Regions from separate parts of the Homo sapiens genome. Here regions 2, 3, 4 and 5 are each linked to region 1. The links are contacts of gene promoters, found by promoter capture Hi-C in blood cells and fetal thymus (Javierre and others, 2016). All regions are on one chromosome and are shown on one strand. The core of a region is centred on a gene start or on the middle of the fragment in contact, and the rest is flanking DNA. Distances in the headings are between cores, read along the strand shown. Region 1 holds the start of ZNF45 (zinc finger protein 45). Region 2 overlaps ZNF569 (zinc finger protein 569). Region 3 overlaps ZNF875 (zinc finger protein 875). Region 4 overlaps ZNF569 (zinc finger protein 569). Region 5 holds the start of LOC728485 (a long non-coding RNA gene).

Region 1 (2,814 bases), core at 162-2,661:
TATTGCTTAAAATTAAATGAGAATTCTTTCAAAATTTTCTAAAGTCTAAACTCAACCTTGCTTTCAAAATCTTCTACAGTAAAATTCCAACCTCCCTCCCCAACTTGATCTCAAATGGCTCCTCTGCAGCCAGTTTCCTATGATTATTTATATGGATCATTTATCTATTTTATTTCCTAATTCTAAATTGGGATTTCAAACTGTGAGACCAAGGGTATTCAGATGTAAGGAACCCAAGTCTAGGACACAAATCCCACTGTTCTTACTAGCACTGTGATATAGGAAAGTAAATTAGGCTCTCTCCATTTCCTCATCTGTATAATTGGTGTAATAACAGTACCCATATCACAATACCCACATCACCTTTGTAAGGTGAACAGAACCCACAACACAAGGCCTTTGTGAAGGTTCAGTGTGTTAGTTTTTATAAAGCCCTCAGAGTGATACTCAGCACCCAATGTTTAACTAGTGTGACTAATATTCATGTCACATTTTCTCCAATTATACAATAACGGAACACTTCTGTAGCAGAAACATTTGCAAGGAATGAAATACCTTCTCGCACTCGGAACAGAAGAGGAAGGTGAATGCTAGGTCCTGTCACAGTGGGGCTCTGCTGCCAGAAGCCAGGATGCTCTCCTTCCTCCTCTCCCGCAGCATTCTTTCAGAAGTCAGGGCAGGGGAAGGAAAGGAGGCTGGGAGATTGCACGATCTTGTCTGAGATCCTGGAAAATCCACAGAGGATAACTCCAGACGCCACCTGTTGAGTGATGCACTCTTTCTTAAAAAACGGGTCAGGCATAGTCCAAGAACAGCCTCCTTTCCTGCAGGAATCAGAAAGAAGAGCCAGGCGCTTGCTGAAAAATGAATATTTTTTATTATGATAGTTTTAATATTAACGGCCGACATGTTGCCACATTCCTGTACTATTCCATACACATTTTACTTGTACTATATTACTAATTGTCAAAACAAATATATAAGGTTAATATTTCCTTTTGCAGAAGAGGAAACTAAGACCAGAAACTAAGCACCGAAAGATTAAGTTCTCACCCAACGTTACACCGCTAGGAAGCTACAGAGCTGTGGGAGGTGGGGGAAGGCGGGTCGGGCCGCTGAGAGCCCAGGAGATCCTCAGACGCCTCCCCATTCAGGTCCACTTCCAACCAGGGGACTCCCGAACCGCCCCGAACGCAGCAGCTCCGGATACAGTAAGGCAATCAGCTGCCCAGCCATTCAACTCCGCCCTCCGCTGCTCGCCGCAGCGTCTTTTCCTGCTGACCGAAGTGCGAGCCCTGCTGATCCTACGACCAAACCATAAAAGTTAAAACAGGTCGCGGGGTCCCAGGACTCACTCACTTCCACGAGAGGAATGAAGGCCGCGCTCTCAACCTCTTGCCGCGGAAGTGCCCGGGAGAGCAGGGAGCTCTGGAACTACATTTCCCAGCATCCCCGGGAGGAACGGAAGCCGCTGCCCCGCCCCCTGGGCGGAAGTGCGGGCTTCGACTCCCACGGCCGAATCTTATTTCTCAGAATCCCCAAGGGGAGCGGGCTTCGTGTTCTCGTCCTCAAATAGTCGAAGTACCACCGAACCCACTGAGCACTGGGGTATAGGTTCCTATTTCCCCAGGGGAGCAAATAACAAAGCCGCGCTTTCCCAGAGCTGAAGTGCCCCCAAAAGTCTGGACCACACGTCCCAGAATCCTCTGTAGGGCTGAGCTTCCCGCCAGCCTGCAATTTTCCTTTTGAATTAGCGGGGGGAGTCTAAGTCATTGCTTGTAGAGCTCAGCCTGCTTTTTCCTTTTGCCATTGTTCCCTTTTATACGTGACAGAAGTTGCGAATATGAAAAAAAAAAAGGAAAATACAAAGGAATGCTATGTGTGAGCTAAAAACAGAGGTAATAAAAGAGGTGGCCAGAGCCGCCCAGAGCAACAAGCCTTTTATAATATGGGTATGGATTCATCTGTGATTAAAAATGCTCAAAAAAGGAGATGCAATCATCCAGCAGGACATGAAACAAAAGCAGCAAAATTCTCCACTTTTCTTGCGCTTAGTTTTCTTTCATTCGCAGGATACTGAAGAAAGTATTATAGTATTGAATAGGCTCTATCCTATATAAAATCTTGAAAACATTCAGTTCAGATTAAGGAATCACATCACTTCTTGCTCTCAGAATCAGGAATCTGTAAAGGTGTCTTATGATTTGCCAAAGTGTCTATGAATATTCAGTAAGGAGAGGGAGGTGAAGTGAGGGATTAAGACATGAAGTGCAAAAAATACAGAAAGCTATACTATTCACTTTTCTCCTAGGTAGAAACTAAATATTTTTCCAAGTTTATTATGAAAGGGTAAAGAAGAAAAAATGGAAGTTGACTACATAGGAGTAGCTGTAAACATCTGAACAATGTTCAATTTAGGCTGAGGCAGGAGACCAGCAGGGCGTGATTCCAAGATCAGATAAGAAACCTGCTGAAACCAGCAAGTGATGGAAAGCAACCTGTAAGTTCCCTTTGCTACCTATCAGTATAAGACACTCCCACCAGCGCCGTGACGGTTTATAAATGCCATGGCAACACCTGGAAGTTACCAACCCCTTTTCTAGAGATTTCCGAGTAACTCACCCCTTAATTTGCATGTAATGAAAAGTTGGTATAAATATACCCAGCCAACAGCCCATATGCTGCTACTCTGGGCACACTGCCTGTGGGCTAGTCTTGGTCTGCAAGGAACAGTCACTGAGCTTTTAACACTGTTGATTCGATAAACCTGCTTTCTTCCGCTGCTGGCTTGCTGTTGAATTCTTTCCTGAGCAA
Region 2 (2,700 bases), core at 87-2,586, 6.5 Mb before region 1:
AGGTAAGAAATGAAGTGACATGGATTATAAGATCCATGGAAATGTTGATCAGAGAATATAATAATATTCAGCAATGAGATTAACTGAACTACAACTAGATGCACCAATTTAACATGGATGAATCTCACAAACATAATATTAAACAAAAGCCAGACACAGAATACACAGATTATATAAAGTTAAAAGACAGGAAGAAACAATTTATGGTGATAAAAGTTGAACACTCCTGGGGTGGGGGTGATGACTAGGAAGTATAGAAAAGGTATCCTAGAGTGCTAGGGTAATTCTGTATTTCTTCACTGAGTGTGTGCGCTGTGTTACACAGGTATGTTCATTTTGAAAATTAACTGAGTGTGCCTGAGGAAGAAACTGGAGATATATAGAAGCTGGCAGATAAAAATACATGGTCGGCCGGGTGCTGAGGCTCACGCCTGTAATCCCAGCCTTTGTGAGGCGGGCAGATAACCCGAGGTCAGGAGTTGGAGACCAGCCTGGCCAACAGGGTGAAACCCTGTCTCTACTAAAAACACAAAATTAGCTGGGCATGGTGGCGCACGCCTGTAATCCCACCTACTCGGGAGGCTGAGGCAGGAGAATTGCTTGAACCTGGGAGGCAGAGGTTGCAGTGAGCCAAGATCGCATCACTGCACTCCACCCTGGGCAAAAAGTGAGACTCCAAAACACAAAAAACAAACAAAAAAAACCACGGTCAAAGAAAGGTATATCTCAGAAGAGCAAAGCTTTGAGCTGAGGGTAAAAAGTAAAATATGTTCAGTATCTGAGAGTGTAGGATAAATCTGAAAGAAAACCACAAGTATTCACAGAATATCAAGTGTACTAGGTGATCTTCTAGGTACTGGAGATACAGCAGTAAACAAAGTAAAACACACTCTCTGCTTACATTCTAGTGGTTAAAATTTTAAGAATTTACCAGAAATGATTACAGTGTGGCTCAATCAGCAGCAAATGCCCATTGAAAAAGATAATTACATAGGGTCATCTGAAAGACACACATCCCACCTCTTTCTTAAGATAGTCTAGTTTTCTCTCTTTAAATTTACGGGCCGGGCGCAGTGGCTCACACCTATAATCCCAGCACTGTGGGAGGTCAAGGCAGGTGGATCACTTGAGGTCAAGAGCTTGAGACCAACCTGGCCAACATGGTGAAATCCCATCTGTACTAAAAATACAAAAAAAAAAAAAAAATTAGCCAGGCGTGCTGGTGGGTGCCTATAATCCCAGCTACAATGGAGGCTGAGGCAAGAGAATCACTTGAACCCGGGAGGCAGAGGTTGCAGTGAGCTGAGATCGTGCCATTGCACTCCAGCTTGGGCAACAGAGCAAGACTCCATCTCAAAAAATAAATAAATAAGTAAATAAATAAATAAATTTATGTATGACATGCATAGAGTAATGTGGTAAAATGGACTAGTCTTAAGCATAAAATCTGATAAATCTGTATACATTTATAGACATGGGTACCTACCAGTAAGTCAAAATACAGAACATTTTCACCCCTCCAGATTTCTTCATGCTGTTTCACAGTAAATACCCTCTCAGAGGTAACCAGTATTCTGACTTCTATCACAATACATTAGTTTTGCCCATTTTCAACTTTATATGAATGGAACCCTATGATATATACTTTTTTGTTTCTGGCTTCTTTCATTCTATGTTTGTGTAATCTATCCATGTTGGTTGTTGCGTGTAACAGTCATCTGTTCTTTTTTATTGTTAAGTAGTATTTCACCGTGTGAAATACTATAATTTATTCCTTTTCCTGTTAATTTTCATTTGCATTGTTTCTAATGCTGGGCTATTTTGATAGTTACACTTTGTTTTATCCTTGATCGAAAGAGAACATCAAAAGAGCTAGGTTTATCAACTACAAGAAGTAACACTACAATGTTTTCATTGACCTAGGTATCAATGAAAAGCTTATTTCTGTTAGAAAATGTTGATTTTTTATTGTTACAATGAAAATTATGTAACAAATTTTTGCTCTGGTTTTCTTTACCTGTAAAAAGGAAATTTAAATTTGAAGCCCAGCTTTAATCTCTCTGAATGAATTTCATAAAATACCCACATTTTAACTCTTCCCTAGTTTTAATCGTTCAACTCTATTTCCCCTGAAAATATGTTTTATGTATACAGACCTTTATAATTTACTGTATGAATTACTGCAATCCCCTTAAATTGCATTGGAGAGTAAGGCAAGAAACAAATACACTATTTAACATTTACCTGGGACTCAGTCATTTCCTCTTCTTTCTGGGAAGGGATGGGGCCTGCAGAAGTAGAGCTGGGGAAGAGAATAAAAGTCATTAAAATAGGCCTGTCTTTAGTTTCAGAAACATGCACACACAGGGTGGATTAAAGGTCACCCTGTAGTGGAATGATAATTAAATCTATCAGAAATGCCAAGAATATTCATACCACAAAGGTTCTTAATAGGTGTGAGGATGATTGGAATAATCATGCAGAGCTTGGGCACAGGGTGGATAGAAACAGGGGTGCGTATGTGGGAGCTCTGTATCAGAGAATACATGTAGCATCATGAAAGCATATATGCAGGAAAATTATGAAACTGACAAAACACCTAAAGTATTTTAAAGTATTGAGACATTTAAGACAGTCATAATTAGCAATTAAAAAAGAAGTAGCAATTTAAAAGAATTTAAAAGGTGATATATCTTGAGG
Region 3 (2,833 bases), core at 280-2,779, 6.6 Mb before region 1:
TATATTTTCTGTTTTCCAAGTTCATGCAGGCAATAGCTTTGCTAATATATAATACTAGTTGCCTTGTTCAAGCTGCCATATCAGTTTCATCACTCCTTTCCCAGTCCCCACTAGCAGTTTGTTTACTGGTTTTCCAGCCTGTGCTAATAGTTTTCCTGGATGCTTTCCAAGCCTCTGCCCATGTCCTGCTCCCAAAGCTAATGCCACATGTTTTAGGTATTTTGTTATGGCAGCACTTCACTTCTGTGTACCAACTTAGTGGCCTAAAGAACATAGCGGCTTAGGCCTGGTACAGTGGCTCTCACCTGTAATCCCAACACTTTGGGAGGCCGAGGCGGGCGGATCATGAGGTCAGGAGTTCGAGACCAGCCTGGCCAACATAGTGAAACCCCGTCTCTACTAAAAATACAAAAATTAGCCGGGTGTGGTGGTACACACCTGTAGTCCCAGCTACTTGGGAGGCTGAGGCGGGAGCAGGAGAATCGCTTGAACCCAGGAGGCAGAGGTTGCAGTGAGCCGAGACCACGTCATTGCACTCCAGCCTAGGTGTCAGAGTGAGACTATCTCCAAAAAATAAAGAATAAATAAAATAAAACCAAAAAAAAAAAAAAACCAAACAAACTTAGCAGCTTAAAATGAAATCATTTTTTCAAAATCCTGTGGGTCAGCAAGTAGGCCCGGCATGGCTGAGCTGATCCTCTTGGCATCCTCATGTGGCTGTAGTTAGCTGGCTGCTCAGCTACAGCTGGATGGTCTCAACCTGTCTGGTGGTTGACAGCTTGGTTGGCTGGGATGCTTCAATTCCTGGTTCTTCTCCATGTGGCCTCTTCAGCAGGCAAGCTCAGGTTATTCACATGGTGGTCTCAAGGTTTCTTGCACAGCGAGAAGGCCAGCCCTGAACTCAGATGCCTCTCAAACATCTGCTTGCATCATGTTTGCTGGTGTCCCACTGGATAAAGCAGGTCCCATGGCCAAGCCCAGGGTTAATTTAGGAGGAGACTGCATGAAGGGTAGAAACAGGGAGGCATGATTCACTGGGGCCATCACTGTACCCATCCACTGGTTAGATACAATGCTTTTGGCCGCAAGCAACAGTAAACCTAATTTAGGCTGTTCTAAACAATAAGTAACTTAGCCTATATAAAAAGAAGTTCACAGAGAGAGTGCACTTTGGGGTTGGTCCTTCAGCTCCATAAGCTTCCCAAGGACTGGGGTGCTTTCATCTCTGCAGTCTACCCTGTTCTCTACAGTGTCAGCCTCATCCAGGCTGGTTCCCCTCAAAGCCATAGGATGTCTGCCAATAGCAACTTTGTTTAATTCTCACAATGGCCCCATAAGGTAAGTACTATTATAATATCGATTTTATAGGAAATTGAGACACAGATATTAAGATATCAACGCAAAGTCATAGGGGAGGGAGGAGAGAGGGGACTGTAATTTGAACACAGTTTGTCTCCAGAGTTTGTGCTTTTAGCCACTGAGTAGTTGTTAAACTTTAGTGTGCATCAGAATTACTTGGAAGCCTTGTTCAAACATTGCTGGGCTCCCCCCGCAATTTCTGATTCAGTAGCCCTAGGATGGGGACTGAGAATTTTTATTTCTAACAAGTTCCCAGGGGATGCTGGTGCTGCAGGTTCAGGGAACACACATTGAGCCAGTGCACTAAGCCCTGCTGCCTCTTTTGGGTAATCTGTGCCCATGTTTCTGAGCATCAGGAAAAGTGCTTAATTCCTGTGACTCCATCTTACAAATGACGAAGTCTTTTGCTAGAATCCTACGGTAAGGCTTCTTGTGGCCTGTTGGTTACCATTCATTTTTCATATATTTATTTTTCAGCTGGCAAGCAGATGAATTAACTCCCCCAAGCTTCTAGCTGTGTTTCTACTCAGTGGGAGAGATTTGGAGTGAATCATGAGGGTCAACCACACAGTGTCTACAATGCTCCCTACATGCATGGTTCACAGACAAACCATGAGTTGTTCCGGGGCTGGAGGAATAACGGTTGTATTAAATGTGTTAAAGTAACACTAATTGCTCTGTGATGTAGCTCCTTCGTGGGAGATTTTCAAGGGGTGTATGTGTGTATGTTCTGAGAAGGGGTTGTAAAAGCAAATCACAACAGGGACTAGGCAGATACCTGAATAGCCTTTTTCTCTCCAGTGTTTAATGATGAACAGTTTCAGACATATGGAAAAAACCAGGAAGCCTTGTACATTGAACACTCACATACCCATCACCTAGATTCTCAGTGAGTACCTCCTTCTCATGAACTTTTCCTGATCCTCAATCCTACAGTGACCTCTCCCTCTTGAGATTACTCTGACCCAGTGATTCACAACCATCACACTACTTTTAGGAGCCTTTGAAAGTACAAAAGCCCCATCCCCTGGTTTTACGGATTTGTGGTGGGACTCAAGAATCCATAATTTAAAACACCACCCAGGTAGCTCTAAAATATAGCCAGAGAGAGATGAGGTATGAGAACCAAAGCCCTCACTCATCTGTGCTCTTCTCTTGCGATTAAGTACATTGGGACTGGCTGGGTTTGGGGACAGCTATCGATATAACTGAGTGTAGGTAGAGTCTTAAGGCCATTTCATAGTCCAGCCAGTGTAGAATAGTGGAGCTGGTAGGGGACAGGAAATGTAGGGAGGATTCCCTGGGAAGGGTACAGTGTGGAATTAGTTTTAGAGACACAATGTCATACCCTCAAGGAGTGATGGAGGCATTCTGAGAAGGGGATGCAAAATCAAAGAGACAAGGCATGTACCTAAATGAATGACGCTGGTGAGGCAGTCTCCAATAGTGTGTTGCGGCTGATAGACCCCCAGCA
Region 4 (2,843 bases), core at 101-2,600, 6.5 Mb before region 1:
ACTAAATATATTACAACGAATATACAAAAAGATAATAAATTAAAATCTACAAATCAATAATTCAAAATAGAAACACAGGCATACTTCAGAGATACTGTGGGTTCAGTTCCACACCACCACAATAAAGCATGTCACACAACATTTTTGGTTTCCCAGTGCATATAAAAGTTATGTTGGCTGGGTGCGGTGGCTCACGACTGTAATCCCAGCACTTTGGGAGGCCGAGGTGGGTGAATCATTTGAGGTCAGGGGTTCAAGACCAGCCTGGCCAATATGGTGAAACCCTGTCTCTACTAAAAATTCAAAAAAATTAGCCGGGCGTGGTGGCAGGCGCCTGTAATCCCAGCTACTGGGAGGCTGAGGCAGGAGAATCGTTTGAACCTGGGAGGTGGAGGTTGCAGTGAGCCGAGATCATGCCACTGCACTCCAGCCTGGGTAACTAAGAGAGACTACGTCTCAAAAAAAAAAAATTTAATACTATATACTTAGTCTATTACGTATATAACAGCATCATGTCTAAAAAATGTACACCTTAATTTTAAAATATTGCTTAAAAATGCTAACAATCATCTGAACCTTCAGTGAGTCATAATCTTTTTGCTGATAGGTGTCTTCCTCAATCTCAATGTTGATGGCTGCTGACTAATCAAGGGGGGATTACAGAAAGTTGGGGTGGCTGTAGCAATTTCTTTTTTCTTTTCTTTCTTTTTTTTTTTTTTTTTTTTTGAGACAGAGTCTCCCTCTGTCGCCCAGGCAAGAGTGCAGAGGCTAGAGTGCAGTGGCTCGATCTCTGCTCACTGCAACCTCTGCCTCCCAGGTTCAAGCGATTCTCCTGCCTCAGCCTCCTGAGTAGCTGGGATTACAGGTGTGCGCCACCACGCCAGGCTAATTTTTTTTGTGTTTTTAGTAGAGACGGGGTTTCACTATGTTGGCCAGGCTAGTCTCGAACTCCTGACCTCGTGATCTGCCCACCTCGGCCTCCCAAAGTGCTCGGATTACAGGTGTGAGCCACTGCGCCGGCCCCAATTTCTTAAGATAACAATGAAGAGTCACATTGATTGACTTTTCTTTCACAAAAAGTTTCTCTGTGGCATGTGATGTTGTTTGATAGTACTTTACCCACAGTAGGACTTCTTTCAAAACTGTAGTCACTCCTCTCAAATCCTACCACTGCTTTATCAATTATATTTATGGAATATTCTAAATCATTGATTTCCACAATTTGCACAGCATCTTCACCAGGAGTAGATCCTAAAGAAATGACTTTCTTTGTTCACCCATAAGAAGTAATCCTTATCCCTGCAATCACGAGACTGCAGCAATTCAGTCACATCTTCCGGCTCTACTTCTAATTCTACTTCTCTTGCTAGTTGCACATCTACAATTACTTCCTCCACTGAAGCCTTGAATCCTTCAAAGTCATCCATGAGTGTCGAATGAACCTCTTTCAAACTCCTGTTGATATTCTGATCTCCTCTCCTGAGTCATGAATATTCATAATAGCACCTGGAAACATAAATCCTTTCCAGCCAGTTTTTACACTTTTTAATTTACTTTACCCAGATCCATCAGAGGAATCATTACCTATGGAAGCTATTACATTACAGAATGTATTTCGTAAATAATAAGACTTGAAAGTCAAAATTACTGCTTGATCCATGAGCTGCAGAATGGATGTTGTATTAGCAGGCATGAAAACCAACACTGATCTCCTTGTACATCTCCATTAGAGCTCCTGGGTGACCAAGTGCACTGTCAATGAGCAATACTATTTTCAAAGGAACTTTTTTTTCTCGTGAGCAGTAGGTATCAACAGTGGGCTTAAAATATTTAGCAAATCAATGCTGTAAACAGATGTGCTGTCGTCCAGGCTTTGTTATTCCATTTATAGAGCACGAGCAGGGTGTATTTAGCATAATTCCTAAGGGCCCTAGGATTTTCAGAATGGGAAATGAATACTGGCTCCAACTTAAAGTCACCACCTGCATTAGCCCATAACAGGAGGGTCAGTCTGTCATTTGAAACTTTGAAGCCAGCCACTGACTTCACCTCTCTAGCTGTGAAAGTCCTAGATGGCATCTTCTTCCAATAGAAGGCTGTTGCATCTACATCGGAACGCTATTGTTTAGTTAGCCACCCTCATCAATAATCTTAGCTAGATCTTCTGGATAATTTACTGCAGCTTCCATCGGCTCTTACTGCTTTACCTTGTATTTTTATGTTATGGAGATGGCTCTTTCCTTAAACCTTATGAACCTACCTCTGCTAGCTTCAAACTTTTCTTCTGCAGCTTCCTCACCTCTAAGCCTTCATAGAATTGAAGATAATTAGGGGCTTGTCCTGGATTATGCTTTGGCTTAAGGGAATGCTGTGGCTGGTTTGATCTTCTACCCAGACAACTAAAACTTTCTCCCTATCAACAATAAGGCTATTTTGCTTTCTTATCATCTTATCATTTGTGTGTATACTGTAGTGGCACTTTTTTTTTTTTTTTTTTTTTTTTGAGACAGGGTCTTGCTCTGTCACCTAGGCTGGGATGCAGTAGTGTGATCTCAGCTCATTGCAACCTCCACCTCTTAGACTCAATCAATCCTCTCGTCTCAGCCTCCCAAGCAGCTGGGACTACAGGCATGCACCATTACATCCGGCTAATTTCTGTATTTTTAGTAGAGACAGGGTTTCACCATGTTGCCCAGTCTGGTCTTGAACTCCTGGGCCCAAGCAATCCACCGGCCTCAGCCTGCCAAAGTGTTAGGATTACAGGCGTGAGCCACCACACCTGGCCAGCACTTTAAATTTACTTCAAGAACTTTTCCTTTGCATTCACAACTTGGCAAACACAA
Region 5 (2,700 bases), core at 136-2,635, 7.2 Mb before region 1:
TCCCTGGCAGCTCTGTTATCTGGGGTAAGACACAGGAAAACGTGCTTCCGGTTCTCGGCGGAAGTAGCCCCGAACGGTAGAACCGATGGGAAATGTAGTCCAGGGCAGAAAAGCGGTCAACCCAGCCACGATGCGAGCCAAAGGATTCTTGGCTCCAAGCCTGGTCCTGGCTGTTAGTTTGGAACTCATGCACCCAGATGCTAACTCGCCCTCAGAATGCAGAGGGGATGAAACACTGACCGGACAATTCAATCTGTATATGGGTGAGTCCAGGGCTCAGTCTGCATTGCGCGGAAAATGAAGGTGAAGGTGGAGGTGGGACCTGATGGTCTCGTCCCGGATAGGGTTGAAGAAGTGGGAGAAAAGGAATCAAAATCGTGGATGGGATAAGATTGTGCGCGAATGCTCTCTGGGAGCGGATCGTGGCCGACGAGGGCCCGAAGATGCTGCCTTGTGATCGCAGGTGTGAGTGGAAGCTGTGTGAGTGTCAATGTGAGTTGCCTGTTTGGGAGACCAGCATTGTATTTTTGTATCAGGTAGTAACCTTGGAGCCAGGTATTTGTAAAATTATGATAAGAGGGCATCATTCTGGAGCATCGATTTTATTTGGAGGTTGACAGGAGAGGGAAAAAAACCCCTAATATCTGATAAACAACATAAATAGATTTTTATGTTAAAGTAGTTATATTTATTACGGTCTAGAATGCAAATCCAACATGGCTTTTAAAGCAAGAAAGATTTTTTTTATACAAAGTCAAAGGTATTATTTTTATACACTTACTACAAAACATACAAATAGTATACCAAGCCTAAGAATATAAAGAGTCTAGCTTTAATTAATTGAATGTAAATTTAAAAACAAGCATCTAATAAGTAGTCCTTTTCACACATCGAAAAGCCAATTTCGGAATTTTTTTAAAAACTCAAATTACAAAGTAACAAATATCTGGTGTCTTAGTAACTTGAAGATCAGTACTAATGATTAAGCCAGCTTATATGCTAATATGATACATGAAAAAGCCTGTATTTCACAAATAGCAAACCACTAAAACTTTAATTTTCCACAGAAGCCATTGTTTCACACCAATAATTATGTTAAAGATCAAGACAGGCTAAAAGTTTTTAATGAGCACTGAATCCATTAAAACTTGGCAAATTTTTCCACGAAGGTAGAATTTTAATTTCTGTTTAAACCATGGGTAGATGGTACACCCTTGTGAGGGTGTACTGTAAGTACTTCTAAGGAGCTTTATCAGACTTCATCCCAAATTATGTACCTAGTAAAAGATGTACCAATGTCTACTTTGGAATAAGAAATTATTCCTTGTTTGAGCAAGGATTAAGCAGAAACTGAAAGAAGTGTAGTTTATAGCTTCTTACATAAAGTAGATGGGCACCCCTCAAAAACAAACCAATATCCTGGCTCCTTAAATATCAACATTAATCTAAATAATGTATAGCATGCTCCTGTCCAATCTTTCCCGCTCATTTGTAGTCTTCTCAGATCGATGCTTCATTTTAGTCACACATTTCTATCCTGCAAGACTGGGTACCTGGGCTTTTTGTCTGGTTTTGTAACACTAGGCAGTTTTGGCCTTACTCAAAATATAAGACTGCAAAAGGCCTGTTTTACCTCAACCATACGGCTTCAGGAAATGGTCTGTATTTCCAACAGAAAAGTGGTATCTAACTCTCAGGATGGTTTCTAACAACTGGATAGATACCTGGGTCTTTGCGGCCTGTGATGCAGCCTAACAATACAGGACCTTGTGTGATCAGCTAGGTCTGCTAAAGCAAGGGGACATCCATGTTCTAGATTTTTATTTATTTATTTTTTTTTGAGACGGAGTCTTGCTCTGTCGCCCAGGCTGGAGTGCAGTGGCGTGATCTCGGCTCACTGCAAACTCCGCCTCCCGGGTTCAAGCCATTCTCCTGCCTCAGCCTCCTGAGTAGCTGGGACTACAGGCGCCCGCCACCACGCCCGGCTAATTTTTTGTATTTTTCGTAGAGACGGGGTTTCACCGTATTAGCCAAGATGGTCTCGATCTCCTGACTTCGTGATCCGCCCGCCTTGGCCTCCCAAAGTGCTGGGATTACAGGCGTGAGCCACCTCGCCCGGCCCATGTTCTAGATTTTTTATTCTGGTTTAGCAGGATCCAAACTGCCTGTCCTGAAGAGACTCTCTTTCTCTTCCATACAACGGCTGGCCTCTACCAAGTTAACTGCTTCGTGGGGGGAAAATATTGCCTTTCCTTTGGTCTGCATGTTTTAAGGGAAATACCAAATACACCTACAGGAGTTTATCAATAATAGACAAGGCTGATTTCAAACTCTTTCAGGAGATAAACTGGAGGGGAAGACGAATGGCAGGAGGGTGAAGAGGAAACTGAATTACTGTGCAAACACCCGCCACTCAAATCCGGGTGGTTACTGCAGAGTGAATAACGATAGGTACTATTTCGTGTAAGGCAAAGTCCTTTGAAAGGGCTCCTAGAGCGTCAAGGCCTCCACCTGATGAATGAATGAGTCAGGCAGGCCCAGCTCCACTTCACGGATGGGAAAACTGAGGTACGAGGCCTCGCTGAAAGATGCGAGGCAGAGCGGAGAACCAGAAGCACCACTTCTCTCAGGCTGATGCTCTAATCTCGGCTCCCCCCGCCCCTACAATGGCGTAGACGGCCTCCGCCGCCCGACTCACAC

The links. The method cuts DNA at HindIII sites, captures the fragments that hold promoters and counts their contacts. A CHiCAGO score of 5 or more calls a contact.
Region 2: a contact is called between a fragment that was not itself captured here and the fragment with the promoter of ZNF45 in region 1, in 2 of 17 cell types (activated CD4 T cells and total CD4 T cells). The highest score is 6.6, in activated CD4 T cells.
Region 3: a fragment that was not itself captured here is called in contact with the fragment with the promoter of ZNF45 in region 1 in 2 of 17 cell types (naive CD4 T cells and non-activated CD4 T cells); the score reaches 8.4 in naive CD4 T cells.
Region 4: a contact is called between a fragment that was not itself captured here and the fragment with the promoter of ZNF45 in region 1, in 1 of 17 cell types (total CD4 T cells). The highest score is 9.4, in total CD4 T cells.
Region 5: a contact is called between a fragment that was not itself captured here and the fragment with the promoter of ZNF45 in region 1, in 1 of 17 cell types (non-activated CD4 T cells). The highest score is 6.5, in non-activated CD4 T cells.

The regions. Positions count from the first base shown.
Region 1 is chr19:43,933,871-43,936,684 of GRCh38, forward strand. It overlaps ZNF45 (zinc finger protein 45), which reads right to left and starts at 1,412. Exons shown (of 10, transcript NM_003425.4): 1 at 1,054-1,412; 2 at 556-824. ZNF45-AS1 (ZNF45 antisense RNA 1) reads left to right here. Exons shown (of 3, transcript NR_184050.1): 3 at 1-1,944. The HindIII fragment of the contact is 8,828 bases long and covers 1-2,814 here.
Region 2 is chr19:37,442,663-37,445,362 of GRCh38, forward strand. ZNF569 (zinc finger protein 569) reads right to left here. Exons shown (of 6, transcript NM_152484.3): 3 at 2,245-2,302. The coding sequence starts at 2,259. Among named protein-coding and RNA genes, the nearest start is that of ZNF569, 23 kb to the right of the region's middle. The HindIII fragment of the contact is 1,197 bases long and covers 739-1,935 here.
Region 3 is chr19:37,342,774-37,345,606 of GRCh38, forward strand. The region is part of intron 2 of ZNF875 (zinc finger protein 875); the gene reads left to right. Among named protein-coding and RNA genes, the nearest start is that of ZNF875, 9.5 kb to the left of the region's middle. The HindIII fragment of the contact is 669 bases long and covers 1,196-1,864 here.
Region 4 is chr19:37,419,265-37,422,107 of GRCh38, forward strand. All of the region lies in intron 5 of ZNF569 (zinc finger protein 569), which reads right to left. Among named protein-coding and RNA genes, the nearest start is that of ZNF569, 47 kb to the right of the region's middle. The HindIII fragment of the contact is 3,084 bases long and covers 1-2,843 here.
Region 5 is chr19:36,773,047-36,775,746 of GRCh38, forward strand. LOC728485 (a long non-coding RNA gene) reads left to right here and starts at 107. Exons shown (of 2, transcript NR_164117.1): 1 at 107-463; 2 at 2,340-2,700. RefSeq lists an enhancer at 1-21. The HindIII fragment of the contact is 5,631 bases long and covers 1-2,700 here.